Linked DNA regions of Homo sapiens: region 2 is linked to region 1. The links are contacts of gene promoters, found by promoter capture Hi-C in human tissues and cell types (Jung and others, 2019). All regions are on one chromosome and are shown on one strand. Each heading gives the region's core, a stretch centred on a gene start or on the middle of the fragment in contact. The rest is flanking DNA. Distances are from core to core; before and after follow the strand shown.

Region 1 (3,964 bases), core at 959-3,458:
CACTGCACACCCAGCTGCCTGGAGGCTGCCAAGGGCCTTGTCTAGGCGCCCACATCCCCAGCTGACACTAGCTGTTCTGGGATCCCCGGGGAAACCCGCCACCAGAGACCTCCAACACCGTGTCCGGGAGAAGCACGGCCTTCCCTGGCTGTCCCCACAGCAGGGGTAGGTCAGAAATGGGCAGGCCGTCCCCTGGCCAGGACTGGAGTACGAGACACCCTGGCCCCCTTCCTTCCCTCCTCACCCCTCTCTCCTCTCCCTTCCTTCCTCTTCCTCTGTCTCTCCTCCCTCTCTCTCTCCTTTCCTTGCCTTCTCCTTTCCTTCTTTCCCTTCACCTTCAAGTTGTTCCTCCTTCTCTTCCCAACCCCTGGAGTCTCCCTTCATCAGGGTAAACCGGGACCTCTCCTCTGTCCTGGGGTTGGGGGACCGGCTCAGAGCCGCTGAGGTCCTCAAATGACCTTGGGCCGGCAGGGCATTCCCCCAGCACAAACCAGAGGGCACCTGCTTTCCTCCGGGCCAGAGTGGACATCTCCCTCCCCTTTTCTACTGAGGAGCTAAACCCCAACTCCTGGGAGGTCTGCTGGCTTCACACTCACCCCGGAGGGTGCAGCCAGTGGCCAGTCCACTGTGGCCAGTGAGTGGTGGCCGCTGCCATGAGGGAGCCAGTGGCTTCATCTCAGCCACAGGCTGGCAGAAGGTGCCCCGTGAAAGGCAGGCGTGTCGCAGGCGTCCTCGTGGACGCACATGGATTCAGACTAGGCTGCAGCCACCTCTGTTTTCCCTGCACCTCCTGTCTCTGAAAAGCCAAGGAACGCAGCCACCAGCCTGGGCACCCTGAGACCTGGAGGCTGGTGCCGGGAACAGGGTCCCCCGGGGCGGGTGGGAGGGCTGCTGGAGTCAGGCGGGCACACTTCAGGGGCCCAGAGCCCCCAGCAGGCCGGCCCATCCCCAGAGCTAGGGGACAGGGGCCTGGTTTCAGATCACCGGGCCCCCATCCTTAGTGTGTGCTGAGCCGCGAGGACTCCGGTCCTCCCCTCCCCCACTGAACCGTCCGGGGCTGGGGCCTTTGCTTTTTCTCCATCTTCTCCCCGTCCCTCCCCTTCTTACCAAGGGCTCAGGACCCTGCCATCCTGTGTCACTTTTTGAAAAAGGCCACTTGGGTGGGTTGTTTGTTTTTAAAGCCCCTTCCTGATGACCTTTGACCTCTGCCGGGGAAGAGAGGCCTGGCTGGGCCGTTCCACCGAGGCAGCTGCTCCCGGGGCAAACTGGAGGGTGGGGGGGGGTGGGCAGGCACCCTCGCCCCCCAAAGAGCCCAACTTAAGACCGAGGAGGAGCTGGGGCGGCGCTAGCTCGTGCGGGAGGGGGCGGGTTTGAAACCCCAACGTGCAGCTCAGCGGCTTTGCCCGACTCAGGTCTCTGTTTCCCCAGTTGTAACCCGGCAGCAGCCACACCCACTTCCCAGGCTGTTCGGGAGCCGAATACTGGGGAGCGAAGGCAGCGCACTTCCCCGTGGGGACGCACCCCAAGACCCGAAGAGGGTCCCCCTCCCCCAGCCCAGAGTGCTGGTCAACCGCCGTCCACCGTCACTTACACGCGCCCCCAGAAGTCCTGCCGCCGACCACGCGCCCTGCATCTTCGCCCGCCCCGCGCCGGCTCCCCGGACCCCGCGCCCCGGCCCCGGCCCCGGCCCCGGCCCCGCCACCCCCGTCCCTGGCCGGCCGTACTCACCATCCTGCGGCGCCGCCTCGCTGCCGCTGCTGCCCCCGGACGGCTCCCGTGCTGCGCCCTCCCGCGCCTCGGCCCTGGCCCCGGGGCGCGCCGCCAGCCGCCCGGCCGCCGCCACCTCTTCCAGGTCCAGGAGGTGGCTCACCGAGAAGTTCTTGCGCGCCTGGGCGCAGTCGCCGGGCCCCAGCGCGGGTGGAGGCGGCGGCGGCCCCGGGCCCAGCGCCGGCTTGTCCAGGGCGAAGGCGGCGGCCGCGCTGTCCATGCCCGCGAGCGGCCCCGGGGGGGCCGGCGGGGGTCTCGGGCTCGGGTCCCAGGAAGGGTCGCGGGCGCGGGTCGGAGCGAGAGCCCCGGCCGCCCCGCGCTCTGCCCAGCTCCCGCCGCCTCCTAGCCTCGCGGCCCGCCCGGCGCTGACGTCGGGGAAACAAACTTTCCGCCCTCCCCTTCTCAGCCACGGCCGCTCGCTCCGGAGCCGCTGGTGCACGCGCTGCGCCGGCCACACGCCCCTTCTTGAAGCAAACCTCGCCCCCCGTCCTCTCCTCCGCCCTCTCCTCCCCGCGCGCCTCGCCCGCCCCCACCCCGGCTGCTGGCGCTGGGGGCGGGGAAGGGGTGTCCTCCCTTCACCCTCCCCACCCACTTTTTAGGGAGTGGGAGGTTCCGTGTTTTGTCGTTTTCCATCCCCCAAGTATCTGGGAGGTGATGGCAGAGGGATTCCCCCCTTCCCTTTACAATCGCCTCCGCAGGTGGAGGGGGCGGCCCAGAGACGAAGGCGACGAGCCCCCCACTCCCAGCTCCAGCCTCACTCGCCTCAGCGCCCCCAACAACGGCCCCGCCCGCCCGCGCTGGCCGACAGAGCTCTGTGCACACCACCCGCCCCAAGGCTGTCTCTCCCAGCAGGCAGCGCATCCTCAGGCTCCTGGGGTGTACGCGACCCCCCACCCCGCCTCTCCCCCGCTGCTCCCTGCCAGGTCCCCCACACACACCCACACACCCGGTGCCCACCCCCCAGGAGGCCCCAGGCCCTTCCCCAAGGAAAACCAAGCGGAGAGGCAGGCGCTTCGTTGCAGAATTCCTGGCGCACACACAGAGGACAGCCAGCCTGAGACGGGTGACAGGAAAGAGAGAGGCAGACTTAGGTGTCCGCTCTTGTTTCAGTTTTGTTTTTCAATGAAAGCACAGAAAAGATGTGCGGAGTGAGCAGACCTGAGACCCTAAGCCCCCCGGATGCCACTGCTCTTTCTCCAGGACAGCCGCTCACCGGCCCGTCCCTCTGTCGCCCTGCCCTCACTACGAGGCATAAAGTCACATCAGCCAAAGTCGCCTACCGGAGGAAGCCTTCAGCACATCCTTTCCCTGTTCCCATATGGAAAACCGGCCCGCACACATCCCTGAAAGCCTGCGGACCATTATTTTTATTTATTATTTATTATTATTATTTATTTTTATTTTTTTGAGACAAGAGTCTGGCTCTGTCGCCCAGGCTGGAGTGCAGTGTCGTGATCTCGGCTCGCTGCAACCTCCGCCTCCTGACTTCAAGCGCTTCTCCTGCCTCAGCCTCTCGAGTAGCTGGGATTACAGGTGTGCATCACCATGCCCGGGTAATTTTTGTATTTTTAGTAGAGGAGGGGTTTCACCATGTTGGCCAGTCTGGTTTCCAGCGTCTGACCTCAGGTGATCCACCTGCCTCGGCCTCCCACAGTGCTGGGATTACAGGCGTGAGCCACCGCACCCAGCCGGGAACACTATTTTTAAGGAAAGCCTAGCAATACATTATAATACATTAATCCTCACAGCGTGTGTTGTTTGTGTCCGCCCCCACCCCCTCCCGCGCTGGAAAGGAATCGACTTCAAAATGAGGCCGAGTAGGCCGGGCACAGTGGCTCACGCCTGTAATCCCAGCACTGTGGAAGGCTGAGGTGGGTGGATCACCTGAGGTCAGGAGTTCGAGACCAGCCTGGCTAACATGGTGAAACCCTGTCTCTACTAAAAATAATAATAATAAAAAAAATTAGCTGGGCATGGTGGCAGGCGCCTGTAATCCCAGCTACTGGGGAGGTTGAGGCAGGAGAATAGCTGGAACCTGGGAGGCGGAGGTTGCAGTGAGCCGAAATCACGCCATTGCACTCCAGCCTGGGCAACAAGAGTGAAACTCCATCTCAAAAAATATATATAAATTAAATTAAATAAGAAATAATAATTTAAAAAATGAGGCCGAGTGTCCCTGAAGTGTCTTTAGCCACAG
Region 2 (3,677 bases), core at 830-3,329, 120 kb before region 1:
ATGATCATGAACATGACCCTGGGCTGGTTGCCCAACCCCTCTAGGTCTCAGTTTCCTCGTTGGTGGCATGGTTGTCCTTACCTTATAGGGTTGCCTGAGGGTCACTTAAGATGATGAGTGTGGAGGCCTCTCAGCAGAGAGCTTTCAGGACAGACCAGTAAACAAGTGACCATGGTGTGGGATGCAAGTACGGTGAGACGGACGTGCAGGAATCTGAGATAATAAGGGGATGGCTAGCGGCCAGGCGCGGTGGCTCACGCCTGTAATCCCAGCACTTTGGGAGGCTGAGGCAGGCGAATCATGAAGTCAGGAGTTTGAGACCAGCCTGGCCAACATGGTGAAACCCTGTCTCTACTAAAAATACACAAAATTAGCCGGGTGTAGTGGCAGGTGCCTGTCATCCCAGCTACTTGGGAGGCTGAGGGAGGAGAATCTCTTGAACCTGGGAGGTGGAGGTTGCAGTGAGCTGAGATTTCACCACTGCACTCCAGCCCAGGTGACAGAGTGAGACTCCGTCTCAAAAAAAAAAATAGATAAATAAATAAATAAGGGGGTGGCTGTTGTGGGAGCCAAGTCTTCCAGGAAGTTCTCTCCTTGAACTCTGGGCCACTATCATCCATTCTACTCACGTTGGAAATGCATCCCCTATCTACTTGTGGCCGGGGGCTTCCTCTTTGTCAGGTGTTGGGACTCAACAGTCAATAAGAAAGACTTGGCACCACCCACCAGGACTCCCACCTGGTCGGGAGGTGGGGGCAGAGGGGCAAGTCCCCAGCAATTACAGTCCAGTGGGATCAGTGCTGTGCTGGGGGAAATACAGGCACATATTGTCCATTTTGCTTTCATAATCCCTCCAGGCTTCGTTCCTCCAAGCTCTCCCAACCTTACCTGAGATACTCCTGCTGTCCCATGGAGAATTCTTTATAAGTGCAGTATTGTTGAAATACACCCCAAGGACATTGCTACTGCTGCTGTTGAAAAGCTTCCTGTTCTTTGGGTTTGTGAATACACAGTACTCTGGTCTCCCACTATTGTTCCCTAACCAAGTGCCACCTCCAGCCCCAAACCGATCACAAACGGGATGGCCAAGCACTGGGCGTGGGAATAACCGGTCTGAAGCTCAGCCACGCCGCTATAGACTGTGTGACCTTGGCCGTCATTTATTTTCAATCAAGGCTCAGTTGTTCACCTGTGAGTTCTCTGCAGGATATGGTTATCCCTGAGCTGGCTTCTTCTTACCCTGAGACTTGCTCACGCCCGTTGACCTCCCGGTGGTTGTGGACTCAAAGGCTGTCAACCCACTTAGAAAGCAAAACATAGTGGGGAAAGGAAAGCTGCTGTCCAAAGGGATCACACACCACTGTCACGCGCTTCTGTGTGAAGAGTCCACTAACAGGCTTTGTGTGAGCAACAAGGCTGTTTATTTCAACTGGGTGCAGGCGGGCTAGTCCGAAAAGAGAGTCAGCAAAGGGTGGTGGGGTTATCATTAGTTCTTATGGGTTTGGGATAGGCAGTGGAGTTAGGAGCAATTTTTTTGTGGGCAGGGGGTGGATCTTAGGAAGTACATTCTCAAGGGCGGGGAGAATATTACAAAGTACCTTCTTAAGGGCGGTGGGCGGGGGAATATCACAAAGTGCATTATCACAAGGGCGGGGAGCGTGTATTGTCATAAGGTCAGTTGATCAGTTGAGGGTGGGGCAGGAACAGATCACAATGGTGGAATGTCGTCTTTTGTGGATCTTCAGTTGCTTCAGGCCATCTGGATGTATACGTGCCGGTCACAGGGGATATGATGGGTTAGCTTGGGCTCAGAGGCCCGACAACCACCAAGGTACCAATCCGAGGTTGCAGAAGGAGGTTAATGGGTTGTATCCATAGGGACTTTTTTTTTTTTTTTTTAAGAAACAGGTCTCACTCTCTTGCCCAGGCTGGAGTACAGTGGTATGATCATGGCTCACTGCAGCCTCAATCTCCTGGGCTCAAGCAGTCCTCCCTCCTTAGCCTCAAGAGTAGCTAGAACTAGGCACATATCACCACACCCAGCTAATTAATTTTTTTTTTTTTGTAGAGATAGGGATTTGGCTCTTTTGCACCCTCCAGGGCTTGGACCAGTGCTTCACACATGGCGGGAAAAGGAGAGCATCTTGTCAAGAACTGGGAAGGGTCTGATATTTTGCCCTGCTTGCAAGCCCACAAGTTAGCCTGCCAGTTACATGGTGGCTGGCAAAGACATGAGTCTCCTGGGTCAGAGACAAACAACTTTATTACTCATGGCACAGCAGATGTCAACAAATATTTGTGAAATGAATAGATGGTTGGATGATCTTCAGTCCTAAGCTACATACCCAGGAAATGGCAGCTCCCAGATTTCTTGGGGACAACAAGAGTCTCTGAAGTCAGTTAAAGAGCAAAGGAGGAAGACAAGGCCAGTTTGGCAATGTCCAGTGAAGCTGAAGATGTGTGTACCCTGCAACCCAGAAATTCCACTCTTTGAGTCTTTATCACATTATGGCTCATGTGGACAGTGTAGGTATTTGTACAGCCAGTGAGGCTAGGGGAGGAGCTGGCAGAGGAGCTACCTGGGCCACAGCTCTGGCTACTGCAGACCTTCCTGCTGCTCATCTGTGACCTTCATGGCAAGGAGGGTGCAGAGCCCTGCCCTGTAGGAACCCACACATTTGCATGTGGAGACACATTCAAGGATGCTCATGGCAACATGATTTATGACATTAGACATTGGAATCACACCTAATTTTCCATCACTAAGAGAATGGATGAACCATTGTTCAGTTCTACAATGAAATATTATATAGCAGTTAAAAATGGATACACTTGAACTATTGTGTGTCCATATCAGTAAATCTCAGGAGTCAGAGTTGAGGAAAAAGCAAAAGTAGCAAGATGATATACACTCTTCTCTCTCCCTCCCTCCCTCCTTCCTTCCTTTCTTCCTTTCCTTCCTTCTTTCCTTCCTTCCTTCCTCTATTGCCCACGCTAAAGTGCAGTGGTGTGATCTCGGCTCACTGCTACCTCCGCCTCCCGGGAAAAAACGATTGTCATGCCTCAGCCTCTCGGGTAGCTGGAATTACAGGCATGAGCCACCACGCCCAGCTAATTTTTGTATTTTTAGTAAAGACAGGGTTTCATCATGTTGGCCAGGCTGTTCTTAAACTCCTAGCCTCAAGTGATCTGCCTGCCTTGGCCTCCCAAATTGCTGGAATTACAGGCATAAGCCACAATGCCTGGCCTATTTACATATTAAAAATGCAGCATGCCGGGTGCGGTGGCTCACGCCTGTTATCCCAGCACTTTGGGAGGCCAAGGTGGGTGGATCACGAGGTCAGGAATTCAAAACCAGCCTGGCCAAGATGGTGAAACCCTGTCTCTACTAAAAATACTAAAAAGTAGCCGGGCCTGGTGGCGGGTGCCTGTAATCCCAGGTACTCGGGAGGCCAAGGCAGGAGAGTCGCTTGAACTCAGGAGGCAGAGGTTGCAGTGAGCCAAGATTGCACTATTGCACTCCAGCCTGGGTGACAGAGCGAGACTCCATCTCCAAAAAAAAAAACAAAAACAAAAAACAACACAGCACCCTATCCATTTTTATGGACACATAATACATGTGTAGCTGAAGTAAAAACTAAACACAAAAAGGAACTGATATTTAAGCATATCCTGAG

Evidence for each region. Contacts are between HindIII fragments. The study calls those that stand out against the background at their distance.
Region 2: a contact is called between a fragment that was not itself captured here and the fragment with the promoter of PRRX2 in region 1, in 2 of the 25 tissues and cell types used here (adrenal gland and lymphoblastoid cells).

Annotation. Positions count from the first base shown.
Region 1 is chr9:129,663,891-129,667,854 of GRCh38, reverse strand. PRRX2 (paired related homeobox 2) reads right to left here and starts at 2,208. Exons shown (of 4, transcript NM_016307.4): 1 at 1,729-2,208. The coding sequence starts at 1,987. The HindIII fragment of the contact is 13,961 bases long and covers 1-3,566 here.
Region 2 is chr9:129,784,658-129,788,334 of GRCh38, reverse strand. No RefSeq gene overlaps it. Among named protein-coding and RNA genes, the nearest start is that of TOR1B, 17 kb to the left of the region's middle. The HindIII fragment of the contact is 6,559 bases long and covers 1-3,677 here.